3 separate regions of the Homo sapiens genome follow, and all the other regions are linked to region 1. Evidence: promoter capture Hi-C in 16 types of primary human blood cells and fetal thymus (Javierre and others, 2016). All regions are on one chromosome and are shown on one strand. The core of a region is centred on a gene start or on the middle of the fragment in contact, and the rest is flanking DNA. Distances in the headings are between cores, read along the strand shown.

Region 1 (4,319 bases), core at 560-3,059:
TTAAGAGTAATTACTGTCAGTAGCAGCATAAACTTTCTTCCCTTTATTCTTATGACAGCTTGAGTCTTCATCCTTTAGGTCCCAGTTTAAATATAATCGGGAAGACTTTTCACACTAACTCATGTAAGTGTTCCTGTCATTCTGTTAGTTCCTCCCCCTTTTTTTTGGCTAGTTTTTCTTGGGACTTTGCATATATACATATTTGTTTGTTTCTGGTCTGTTAGTCCCATTAGTGTATAAGCTCCTTGAGAGGAGGTTCCATGTCCAGCTTATTCACAATCGTACCCTAGGTTTCCAGTATAAAGCCTAACAAACAATGCATTTAATCAATGACATTCTTGACATTTTTGTGAAGAGCATTTATTTGATACTTAATTTTTCTTTTTTTTTTTTTGAGACAGGGTCTTGCTGTGTCACCCAGGGTGGAGTGTGGTGGGGCAGTCATGGCTTACTGCAGTCTCCACCCCCTTGGCTCAAGTGATTCTTCCACCTCAGCCTCCTTAGTAGCTGGAACTACAGGTGCACACCACCATACCCAGCCAATTTTTAAAATTCTTGTAGAGACAGAGGTCTCACTTTGTTGCCCAGGCTGGTCTCAAACTCCTGGCCTCAAGTGATTAAATTTTTAAAATAATGTATTTTTTCTTTATTTTTCCAATTTATATAAAAATGGAAATATTTTTTATTATTCATTAACGTTGGGTAACACTTTATATAAACTTTCCCTTTGTGTTATATGGAAGTCTAAATTTACAGAATACTTTAAAACCCCACGGCAACACAAAACCCACATTTGTCCGTGTTCCTTCCATAATTTGAAAACTTTGCCTTTTTCCCTTACACTGACTTGAAGCCTGGCAGCTTGGGCCTAATTTACAAGGCACTAAGTAAGTACTCTCTTAAAAAACAGAGAGTGAGGATGCCCTGTTTCACAACTTAATTCCAAAAAGCCAAGTCAGACGAAATCGACCCACTTTCCTGCTAAGGGTTTGTCCCAAGAGGCGAGCTCTTCTCTGTCCGCTCCAGCCAAGCTGGCCGATTGCCCCTGAGCACTGGACACAACCTTGGTGTCCCGGTTTCGGGTCAGGGTTACTTTCCAATTGTTAGGCACGACTTTGTGCGTGCGTGCGAGACTGTGGACTCGGAGGTGCGCATTTGGGGCGTAGCCGAGCCATTTAAACCAGCGAATCCGCGTTCACCTTGTCCTTCCACCTCTGCCCTATCTCGGCAGATGCTCCACGGATTTGCACGAACTCCCGAGTCTTGACCTCCCTCCCCTCTCCGGGCTGCCGGGACAACTCGGGGCGGCCACTCTTGCCAGGAGGCGTAAGTAAGGATGAAGTTGGAAAAACTGAACTAGGTCTAGGGCACGCTCTGCAACACAGTCGGGGAGACGCTTCAGAGGGCCGGAGAGGGAGGCAAGTTGCCACGGCGCGAAGGGGGCGGGCCGGCTTGGGCCGCTCGCATTTCCTGTGACAGGGGCTGCCCCAGCCTCTCCTTCTCCCGCGGCGGCGGGACCATTTCCTGAATCGCTGAAGCGGAGGGAGGACTAGGGCGCGACTCTACCATTAGCGCAAAGGGCCAGGGGGTGCCCATAAGGAGAGCTCGGGGGATGCAGGGACGGTCAAGAAAGTTCGGCCAGGGCTAGGGGTCCCCCAGAGTGCGCAGAAGCGAGACATCCCTGGCCAGAGTGCCTCCTTCAGGCCTGCCCCGCCGCCCGTCCGCTTGGCCCCGGAGCATCCCCCCTCCCCGCATTCCCGAGGTGGTTCAGCCCGAGAGGCCGGCGTCTCTCCCCCAGTTTGCCGTTCACCCGGAGCGCTCGGGACTTGCCGATAGTGGTGACGGCGGCAACATGTCTGTGGCTTTCGCGGCCCCGAGGCAGCGAGGCAAGGGGGAGATCACTCCCGCTGCGATTCAGAAGGTGAAACCGCGCGGGGTTGCGGATGCCAGGCCCTTACCGCCTCTGGGAGAGACAGACGCGGGGGGAAGGGCCGGGCCCGGAGTCGACCGGGCCGAGGCGGAGGCGGGCCTGCTGGGAATCAGCAGTGTTTGGGAACACGGACTGCTGGCTGTGCCTGAGTGGGTGGCGGAAGAGGGTGAACCGGTTTTTCTCGGAGTCTTTCACGCATTTACGCGTTTTTCTACAGACACAAAAGCCCAAACAGCCGCCGCCTGATTTCTCTAGGGATGGGGCGGCGTTCGGGCTGCGGGGCGCGTGCGCCCGGCGGCGGCCGCTCAGGGAAGGGCGTGTGTCGGACCGGCGGCCCCGCGCGTTGCTCCGGAGTTACTTTGGCGTCGCCCCGCCCCGCGTGCCGCGGCTGCTTCGTGCGGACCCCACCGCGGGTCGCGGCAGGCAGAGGGGAAGTCGGTGCGCTGGTCGCCGCCCTGCAAACTCAGCCGAGTTTGGGAGCTCGCAGGAGGACTTGGGGAACGCTGGAGGGAACCTTAGTATAGAGTTTGAGGAGCGGGCAAGGAAGGTCCCCATGGACTCTGGGGTTGTCCCCAGAGCCTCTTCTTCCCTTCTGCATCGCCGCCTATTCATTTATTCTGCAGCAAATATTTATTGAGCGCCTATTTTAGGCGCTGAGGCTACTGTGGTGAGTCATGGTCCTTGCCTTCCTGGAGCTTACAGTCTAATGGTGGAGACTGTCGTGACCAGTTAATGTAAGTCGTGATAAATACACAGGGAGCTGCCTCCTTTTTAAAGGATAGAGCTGCTGCAGTCGCTGCTGTGTTACTGCCAGTCGGAACACAAAGGTTCTTTATTGTCCTCTACCCCTTGTTGCCTGCAAGCAAGGCAGCATTCTAAATTTTACTGACCTAGACTTTCAGAAGTTGCTGCTGTATTTAGCAGTTTACTTTAAATATTTTTGTTTTGTTTTATGCTGTGTAGCAAAGATCAAAATAGAAAAAAAGGTCAAGTTTTAGTACCACTCAGACCACGTAGATTATGCTAATCGGTTTCTGTTTACTGTCAGGTTCTTCGTAGTGTGGCTTTTGACATTTGCCCAACTGTTGCTTTATTTTATGAACAAACGGGCTTGGCAGTGCCTGGAAATGCAGTGCTTTCATATAGTGCTCTGAGTTAAGTCTGCAGCCTGGCAAACAGCTCCAAGTACGCACTCACGCAAAACTGCGTTTCTGGAGGGCTCACCTTTTTTATTTTTGTACACAGGAAAAGTCCAGAGTTTTTCTTTTTTTTTTATAGTTTCTGTTACATAAGTCTGAAGATATTTATCATGGATAATGATTAATTCGGAGGATGCTGATCAATTATTTTCCATTCTCAGCTGAACAGAAAAATGGGCTCTAAATTAATTGCCTTATTCTACAATGGGAGAGATTGATATTAGATGTGAGACAGATATTTTAATGGTGAAGTTCAATAGTTTGAGGAATATACTGGAGATAATAAGTTGTGAAATCATTAGGTTGAGGACTGGATTCGTGCTTTTTAAGGACTTTTTTTGGTCATCCAATGGTTCTATTTAAGAAATAACTGCATTTATTAGCAGATCATGTTAGTGGTTTTTTTTTTCCCCCAGTAAGTGAAGATTATGATTCACGTGCATAAAAAAGTGACAGTTAATGTTAAATGGATGTTCCTTTTATTTAGATTGCGTGATTATGGTATTGTGCTAATACTTTTGAATACTGGTAGGGTGGGGCAGGTTCTGGAGGAGCATATCCTGAGTCCCTTGATCTTACAGCTGAATCAGCCCCTGAAAACTTAAGTGACTTGCTCAAAATGGCAAAACTGGCACTGAAACTAACTGGCCTTTTAATTGCTACAATCAGTACTCTTTCTTCAGCTCCACTTTACTTAGATGAATTATTTAACCCTCAAAGCCAAGATTGCTTGGAATGTTAAAAGATGATAGAATGATAAATCGGTATGTTTTTCCTCTTAAACTTTTGAGACAGCATAATTATGAAGTAAACTCATAAAGTCTGTAACAAATATACATGCATAGAAATTATTATGTTTAATTATTATCTCATAATTGGAGAGTCACAAAACCATGCTGTTATAAAACTTGGAAACTAACCAGCTACCTCATCAAGACTCCTGGGCTGAAGTTTTCATGTATTTATTTCATTCTGGAGAAGGACAGAATTTTTCTTTACTGTTCCAAAGCATTAGAATGATGAAAAACCAACTCGGACTCTTAACTTTTAGTCTTAATTGGCTAAAGCTTCTATTACAGATAGCAGAGGTAATTAAATGTTTGATATAAAAGAATTCAGATTTTCCCTTCTGGGCTTGTTTATTCAGAGGGAGAATAATTGGAATATTAAAACATTATTGATTAAACACG
Region 2 (4,319 bases), core at 1,335-3,834, 5.0 Mb after region 1:
AGATAATTGGTCATAGGTAATTACAGTGTTAACTTATTTTATTGTATTATTGGTTACAAAAGTACGTACCATACAGTTATTGTAACTGTCTTTTTGGTGGTGTGGCACTTAACATTGTCACTTGTAAAACATTCTAAAGAGGGTTTTATGACATGAAAAACCACAATCCCATTTTAAAAATAGTTAAGTGGTTGATAATACAGTTATCTGTAAATAATTGGAATTCTTAGGTTTGATACATTTCCTCTGTAAATGTATCAAAGTTGTTCAGAGTTTCTGAACAACTAAGGGTTATATAATATTTCTTGGTCCAAACAAAACCACATAATCTCTAAAATAAGGTTTCAGGGAGCATGTATATGGACAGGATTTCACAATGTCTTCGGTGAAATAATGTTAGATATGCTCAATTTTGGGGATTAAGATTAAGGAAACAAAATAATACCATTCAAAGAAATAATACAATTCAAAAATCGCATCTTGAATCAAAGGAAAATTAATGTAGATTGTTTAAAATTAACGTGCATTTCAGTTACTCTAAATTTCTGTTTATTTGTATTTTTCCACGTGTATGGGTTTTACAACAAGCTTCCCAAAGCTTTCAGAATTGTTGTAAGCATCCCTGACCAGGAAATAAGACTATTGTGGGTTGTTTGAAATGTCTCACCACATTATGGATGCTCTTTATATTGAGAGATAGTAAAGAAGGTTGATGCGTAATAGATTTTAAAACATTTTATTAAACGAGATAAGTGGAAGGAATTAGAATATATCTTGTAGTAAGGATTTCTATAACTTCTAAGAAGTCTGATTTATCTTTTAATATTTATCCAGTTTTCATATATTTTTGATTTTATTTTGCTTTTCGATCTCCTTATTACATGAGTGGTGTTATAGGGAGGGTTTAGTAGCTTTCTTTTTCTTTAAATCATCTTCTGGCCTCTTGCTATAGCTTCATTTGGTGGGGACCTTTATTTACATGTGGAGGATACAAGGAAATATAAGTCATGACTCTTTCCCTGAGAGTCCAATCTATTTAATGGAAGACAAAACCTTGTCTCACATATATACACAGAAACAAAGCTAAACACTTCACAGATTGAGAAAATGTGATAAATTCCAGATGATTGTTTAGATAATGTATGTTCTTGGAAATTGAGAGAAAGAAGTCACTGTGAGTTGAGAGAGCCAAAGTATGTTTTATAATGGATGGATAGGATTTAGGTAGAGGGTACTCAAGAGGAGTGGAGGATAACGTGAATAGAGGGTGGAGACATGACTGGCTATGACATGTTTGGGGAAACAAGGAAGATAAGGTTGGAAGGAAATATTAGCGTTAGATTGTGGAGGATTTGATTGGTAGGCTAAGGATTTTGGATTGCCTTTACACTGTTGTGGCTATTAAATATTTATAAATAAGACCGTGCTAGGATGAATGAAGAAGATGAATCTGGTGTGTGGAAGATGGGTTAGCATGGGAAAAGATTGGAGAGACAGTGAGATTGGACAGTTTTTTAAAATTGTTATTATTGTAATAGTCCAGAAATGATTGAAGCCCAAAATTGGGGCATGAGAATGAGAAAAGAAGAATTAATGGAACTTTATTGGCAGGGAAAAGATGGGGAACCAAAGAGAGAGGCAATAGTCAGATGACTCTAAAGAGGTTGAGCCTGGATTATAGGGAGAATGGTAAAAATAGCAAAGTCAGGTTTGGAAATTGCTTGTGAAGAATAGGCCTACAGATAAATTCAATTTTAGATTCGTTGTGTTTGAGGGGATAGTGGAGCAATCATGAGAAAATGACCTGTAGACTGTTGGAGATACAGAACTGAGCTCATAATTACAGATAATGATTTAGAAGTCATTTGCACAAAGGTGCAAGTTGATATAATGGTAAAGGGAGAAACAATGGAGGGAAAAATGAGGGTGAAAGATGAAGGTTGAACAAAGAGGAAGAGTGGAGGAGGTAAGCCATCAAGGCCTCCAGAGTTAGGACAGCCAGGTATCATGGAGCCCAACACTTCTAAAACAACATTTTGTTAAAGAGAATAGTCAACAGACAGATTTGGTTGTTTTTTCCCCTTCAAATCTTATAATCTTGTCCTCTTTTTCTGTTTAGTTCCACAGCTGTTTATTGATAGCTGTTACTGAAATTTTATTACCCCGTCAATCTGAACTTGGTAAAGACTGAATTTTCCTTTTTTTTTTTCTGAGATGGAATCTCACTCTGTTGCCCAGGCTGGAGTGCAGTGGCGCGATCTTGGCTCACTGCAACCTCCGACTCCTGGGTTCGAGTGATTCTCCTGCCTCAGCCCCCACGAGTAGTTGGGATTACACGCGTGCACTACCACGCCTGGCTAATTTTTGTAGTTTTAGTAGAGATGGGGTTTCACCATGTTGGCCAGGCTGGTCTTGTACTCCTTACCCCAAGGAATCCGCCTGCCTTGGCCTCCCGAAGTACTGGGATTACAGGCGTGAGCCACCGTGCCTGGCCCAAGACTGAATTTCCTTTAGAGACAAAAAATCCTTTTTCTGGGTTTGTAGTATCTAGCATGAATTTTCTTCGCATGATGTTTTATGTTTAACATTGAGCATTCGTTCGTTCATTCATTCATTGTGTCATTCAGGGTGACCTATCAGGTGACTTCAGCTTTTTCAGTGAGTCTGTTCTTGTTCTTCCCTATCTGGACTTTGGACCTCTCATGTATTATAGGAACAAAACTCCTTTTACATTGGTTGCCTTTTTCTGTTATTTTGACTTTTGTTGATTTGTGTAACTGATACTTACTTATTAGTGTGTATTATGTGCCACGTGCAGTCCTTTAGTTCTAGAGTTGTTTTTGTAATCCCAAAAATAAGGTTTTCAAATTGTTTCTTCTCTACCTCCTTTACTAGATTCATGCTTAGAAATGGAAACTTCCAAATCTTTTGGTTTCAGAAATTTGCTGGTGTATGTCCTTTTAAACTACCTTACCTACTAAACAGCTTTTTTGTTGAGACACTAATGATGAATAGCATCCGTAATCTGAAATTTGAAGTGCTCAAAATCTGAAACTTTTTGAGTGCTGACATGACGCCATAAGTGGAAAATCCACCTGACCTTGTGAGATGGGTTGCAGTCAAAATGCAGTCAGAACTTTGTTTCATGCACAAAATTATTAAAATATTGCAAAAAATAACCTTCAGGTTGTTGTGTATAAGGTATGTATGAGACGTAAATGAATTTCTTATTTAGACTTGGTCCCCATCCCCAGGGTATCTTATGTATATGCAAATATTTTAAAATCTGAAAAAGTCTGCAGTCTGAAACACTTCTAGTTCCAAGCATTTTAAACAAGGGATACTCAACCTGCAGTAGTTTAGAATAATGTAGCTGGAAGAACTCTGATAAGTGGCTATCCAATCTTTTCTCGAACACCTGTAATTTTTTTCAAGAACTAAGTAAGTTCAATCTTCATATCATGTATAAATGCTAAAATAGTCTGCAAATACTAAGATACATTATGATAACCATTCACTTGTTTCCTAGAGCATTCAAATTAGTCAACTTTGGTTTTCTGTAGGTCAGATTCTTTCCAGTGTCCTAATGGTTGTCTTTCTTACTGTCCATGTTACAGTTTATAAGGATTATCGGGAGCTATTTCTCTTTTCCGGACTTCCTTATCTTCTAATTATTTTGTCTAGGGCCTGTAATAATTTCTCAGTGATTTTGAGTACCTTTGAAAACAGAATAAGGGATGGAGTTTAGTTAAGTCTATTTAATCTTTGCAGAGGAAAAAATGCTTATGATTTGTAAATTAAATAGGAAAAACAAGGCCGGGTGCAGTGGCTCGCTCCTGGAGGGCTGAGGCCAGAGAATTGCTTGAGCCTAGGACGGGGAGGTTGCAGTGAGCCGAGATTGTGCCACTGCACTCCAGCCTGGACGACACAGTGAGAACTTGTCTCAAAAAAAAGGAAAAACAAAAATGGTTGGGAGGGTTATAGATACATTTGTTTTGAAGTTTGACATACTTTTCATGAAAATATCTTGCTTGTAGCATATTTATTGGCACATCGCTTCATGATGCCTGTTAAGAACATGACCTTTCCACTTCTCTTCTGGCTGGTGGAGGTGTAGCAACGGGTGAGCGGAGGAGACAGAAGGGAACCAGTATTAGTCAAATAGTGCCTGTTGAGTTCTAACACTGTGCTGTTTGTCACTACTATTTCTTATTAGGGAGTTTTTCAGAATGTGGAAGATAAATGTAAATGAAATTTCTGGTGTTAGTCTTTGAGTTTTTCTTCCTTTAAATTATCTTCCTGGGCTCTCTTGACCTAGT
Region 3 (4,319 bases), core at 980-3,479, 4.5 Mb after region 1:
CACCAGTTGTCTGGCAATCAGAAGACGAAGATGAAGGGAAACATAGGTCAGGTCTCCTGATAAATAACCAGCTTTTAACCAGACCAGTAGTTTACTCCTGTTCCCCCGCCCCACCCCCCGCCCCCAATTTGAGCTGTTTGGCATATGTCATTAAAGTGTGTATCAGGGACTGGAGCTGAAGGTGGAAGCAGCGGACAGGTCTTTGCCAAGTAACACAACTATGGTAATGTGAAGAATGGCCTCACCCATCAATACCTCCCAAACAGCTGGGATTACAAACGTGAGCCACTGCGCCCAGCCTCGTTTTTGTTTTTAAGCCATAACATCTCCCTGCGCAAACTGACAGGCAGCTCACTATTCGTGGAAGATGAATTGTCAGAAAAACATCAGGTTTGACAAACTTAGAGCACATTTTGGTTGTACTTGGCTTCAAAGAAGGAGGGCAGGAAGGGGAAAACCCATTTATGATCACCTCTTCCCATTCTGAAATGCAGAAGTACCGAACTAGCCTCACAGTTCCGCAAATAAGCAAAGGGTAGCACAGAACATATGTTCAAAAGCAGTCTAGTAGCCGGAGCAGTGGCTTAGGCCTGTAGTCCCAGCGCTTTGGGAAGCCAAGGAGAGAAGAGAGGATCACTTGAGGCCAGGAGTTCGAGATCAGCCTGGGCTGGTCTCAGTGAGACCTTATCCCTACAAAATATAAAAAAATTAGCCTGGCGGCCGGGCGCGGTGGCTTACGCCTGTAATCCCAGCACTTTGGGAGGCCGAGGCAGGTGGGATCACAAGGTCAGAAGTTCGAGACCAGCCTGGCCAAGATGGTGAAACCCCGTCTCTACTAAAAATAAAAAATTAGCCGGGCATGGTGGCAGGCACCTGTAGTCCCAGCTACTCAGGAGGCTGAGGCAGGAGAATTCCTTGAACCTGGGAGGCGGAGGTTGCAGTGAGCCGAGATCGTGCCATTGCACTCTAGCCTGGGTGACAAGAGTGAGACTCCATCTCAAAAAAAAAAAAAAAAATTAGCCTGGCATGGTGTCGTGGGCTTCATACATGCAGTTCTCAGGGAGGCTGAGGCAGGTGGGATCGCTTGAGCCCAAGTCGAGGCTGCAGTGAGCCGTTACTGTGCCACTGCACACCAGCCAGGGCTACACAGCAAGATCCTTCCTGTCACAAAAGAAAGAAGTGTGGGAACCATGAATCCTAGTGATAGAATCTTGGATTCTATCTCTAGAGGCGTCCAAGAGCGAGCCAAAGCTTTGTCTGAACACTCAGTCTGACTAAGTCTAGCAGAATATTTTACAATTTCTGATGATTCTTGCACTCTGATACACAGGAAGAAAGTGTGCAAGGAGAGGGCGAAGCCCTGCATTTTTTGGAGGTGCTGGAGGGCAGTGTAGGGACTGCACCCTCCTTTTTTTTTTATTTGAGACAGGGTCTCACTCGTCCAGACTAGAGTGCAGTGGCCCAGTCTCAGCTCACCACAACCTCCGCCTCCCAGGCTCAAGGGATTCTCCCGCCTCAGCCTCTCGAGTAGCTGGGATTACAGTCGCACGCCACTACCACCCGGCTAATTTTTGTATTTCTAGTAGAGACGGGGTTTCACCATGTTGGCCATGTTGGCCAGGCTGGTCTCGAACTCCTAACCTCAAATGATCCACCCGCCTCTGCTTCCCAAAGTGCTGGGATTACAGGCGTGAACCACCGCGCCCGGCCCCACCCTCCTTCTTTACATTGGCTCATATGGAAGACCAAAGGCACTTGGATTATACATCGCAGACAGAAGCAGCCAAAACCTACATGGCAACCAGTTGCGACAAATTTCCAAGGTAAACCACAACCGCTGGGGGCCTGGGTGGTTTTCAGCTCAAAGCGATGACCCCAGGAACGACAAGCGGCCGCCGCTAGGGGGCGCCGCCACTTCCCTGCCAGGCGACCACCCGCGGAGGCGCGCGCGCTAGGCCTCCCACCGCGCCTGCGCTGAGGATGGACACTAGCTCGCCTTTCCTCGACGCCCAGCCGTCCGGGCCGGGGTGAAAAACTGCGTGACACGCAGTGAGCGTGGCGGCCATCTTCGTCTTCTGGGCACGTCAGCTGAGCCGGTTAGGGCTGAAGAGGAGCGTTGCGCAAGCGCACCCAAGACGGTCACAGGTAACTCCCATCTGACGAGCGAGGCGTCGCCGTCGTCGCCGGAAGTTTGGTGTTTGCGCCGCGGGGGAGGCGGCGGCCGCAGCAGAAGCAGCTGAGTGTCTCCTGATACCCGGATGTGAGGCGATCCGCTGGCGCTAGTCTGACCCTCCGCCAGGCAAAAGGAAGGTACGCGAGCGTCCCTGACGGTCCCCGCCGCCTGTGTCTTCACCTCTCTTTTGCCAGCCCCTTCAGGGAGCGGACAGTTCTCCCTCTTCCTGTTCCACCCTCGGTGGCGTGTTGCCTCGCACGCCCCTTCCTACTGCTCCGGTCCCAGCTCTTCGCGCCCCTGGGAGGGAGGTGGGAGGCTCTAGGCTCCAAGACGCCGTCGCTTGAGGTAGGCAGCTAACGTGCTCGCGTGTCCGCGCACCACCTGCCGCTGTTTGCTGGGCGGTCGAAGTTCATAAGGGGTCGTGACCGCCGACGGGGCAGGGCCGGAGTTCCCAGCACTGCCGCGAGGGCTCCGGGAGCCCCGAGGTGGCGCGCAGCCATTGCTAGCACCGGGGCAGCGCCAGTGCTGGTCCCGCAGGTAGCTCCGGGCCCCGTCTCCGCCCCCTGCGTTTTCTCTTCCCGGCGCTTCACCGGAGCCAGTCCCTCGCCGCCTCCTGGCGCAACCCGCTGACCCGGCCTGAGCCTGGAGGCCTCTGCAGTTTGCGGGGCGCGATGTGGGGTCTTGGTTTTACAGCCTTCAGTTTGGGAGGGGAGCGGGCCCAAGGTCATAGAGTAACTCATGCTGCAAATGGGGGTCTCGGCACAGGTAGGGCGGCTCTGGAGTAGAAATGAGTGCATTGAGGGCCGCAGTGAAGTTTATAGCGATGGAGAGAGGCGAACCAAAGAGAATTGGGTCCTCGATTTTTATCACGGGTTAAGATTATTTTACTATGGGGGTTTATTTTGCACAGGCAGAATGGGATAGCAAGTCCAACAATTCGAAGACTACCTCCTCTCCCTCCGCCTCTCAATGATGCGTCCGAAAATCCGGCGTGTGCTTTATTTTCCGGGGCGATGGGGACGCAGCGGGGACCAGGGGAGGGAGGAAGAGGAGGAGGAAGGAGCTCAAGCTTTGCGATTTGAGAAGTACTATGAACCATGTTTTCTGTAGTCTTAGCTGCAATGAGATTCCTTTAAACAGGAATCGCAGCACACAGTATCTAGATAGTATTACAAAACGATATCTCAATAAATAAGCTTCGCAGGAAACAAAAGCGCTACTTGGTGGCATAAGGTGTGGTTAGTCCCCCCACCAGCATTGGCTTTTTTAAAAAAGTGGATAAAACATAGATTTCAGTTGAAAACATCCAGGTTGCAGTGAACTATGCTATATTCACTTTGTCTTCTGGTCAAGTACTTAGTTTCTGCTTTACACAGGACACCAACACGAATAAAGTTTTAAGTTATTATTTTATTTTGAGACGGGGTCTCGCTCTGTCGCCCAGACTGGATTGCAGTGGTGTAATCACTGTTCACTGCAGCCTTGACCTCCCTCCCCGGCCCCAAGCAATCCTCCCACCTCCGCCTCCCTGAGTGGCTGAGACTACAGGCGTCCGCTACCATGTTAGGCTAAGTTTTCTATTTGTTGTTGAGACGGCGTTTCGCCATGTTGCCCAGGCTGGTCTCGAACTCCTGGGATCAAGTGATCACCTGGGCCTCCAAAAGTGCTGGGATTACAGGCCTGAGCCACTGTGCCTGGTGAATTTTTTTTTTTTTTTGAAAAGCAAAAAATCTAATCAATGGAATTAGACATGGGAGTAGGATGAGAAGTGCTTTAAAACGTGCTTAATTTGGAAGTCGCAAATTCAGGCCTAGAGCATGTGAGGAAATGAGGAAACTAGGACTGTAATAGAGCCACTTTTTCCCTTTTAGGCAGAATGCAGAGTATCACTGTTGGGTCAGATATGTGACTTTGGAAGCACAATTCCAAAATTTGTCCTGGCTTACGAGCTAGAACTCCTTTATCATTGCTAACTGAGGAAAATATGCTATTGTCTCACCTTTCTCAATCAATATTATAATCCTGTAGTGAACAAGTAATTGTTTGTTTTTTTTTTTTGAGATGGAGTCTCACTCTGTCGTCCGGGCTGGAGGGCAGTGGCGAGATCTCGGCTCACTGCAATCTCCGCCTCCTGGGTTCAAGTGAT

Evidence for each region. Contacts are between HindIII fragments. The CHiCAGO score rates a contact against its expected background, and 5 or more counts as called.
Region 2: a contact is called between a fragment that was not itself captured here and the fragment with the promoter of SS18 in region 1, in 1 of 17 cell types (non-activated CD4 T cells). The highest score is 7.0, in non-activated CD4 T cells.
Region 3: a contact is called between the fragment with the promoter of ESCO1 here and the fragment with the promoter of SS18 in region 1, in 1 of 17 cell types (non-activated CD4 T cells). The highest score is 6.8, in non-activated CD4 T cells.

The regions. Positions count from the first base shown.
Region 1 is chr18:26,088,103-26,092,421 of GRCh38, reverse strand. SS18 (SS18 subunit of BAF chromatin remodeling complex) reads left to right here and starts at 1,809. Exons shown (of 11, transcript NM_001007559.3): 1 at 1,809-1,921. The coding sequence starts at 1,853. RefSeq lists an enhancer at 1,355-1,474. The HindIII fragment of the contact is 4,894 bases long and covers 1-4,198 here.
Region 2 is chr18:21,105,947-21,110,265 of GRCh38, reverse strand. All of the region lies in intron 1 of ROCK1 (Rho associated coiled-coil containing protein kinase 1), which reads left to right. Among named protein-coding and RNA genes, the nearest start is that of ROCK1, 3.7 kb to the left of the region's middle. The HindIII fragment of the contact is 3,968 bases long and covers 601-4,319 here.
Region 3 is chr18:21,598,614-21,602,932 of GRCh38, reverse strand. ESCO1 (establishment of sister chromatid cohesion N-acetyltransferase 1) reads left to right here and starts at 2,229. Exons shown (of 12, transcript NM_052911.3): 1 at 2,229-2,310. RefSeq lists enhancers at 600-679, 2,004-2,523, 3,591-3,885. The HindIII fragment of the contact is 1,991 bases long and covers 1,254-3,244 here.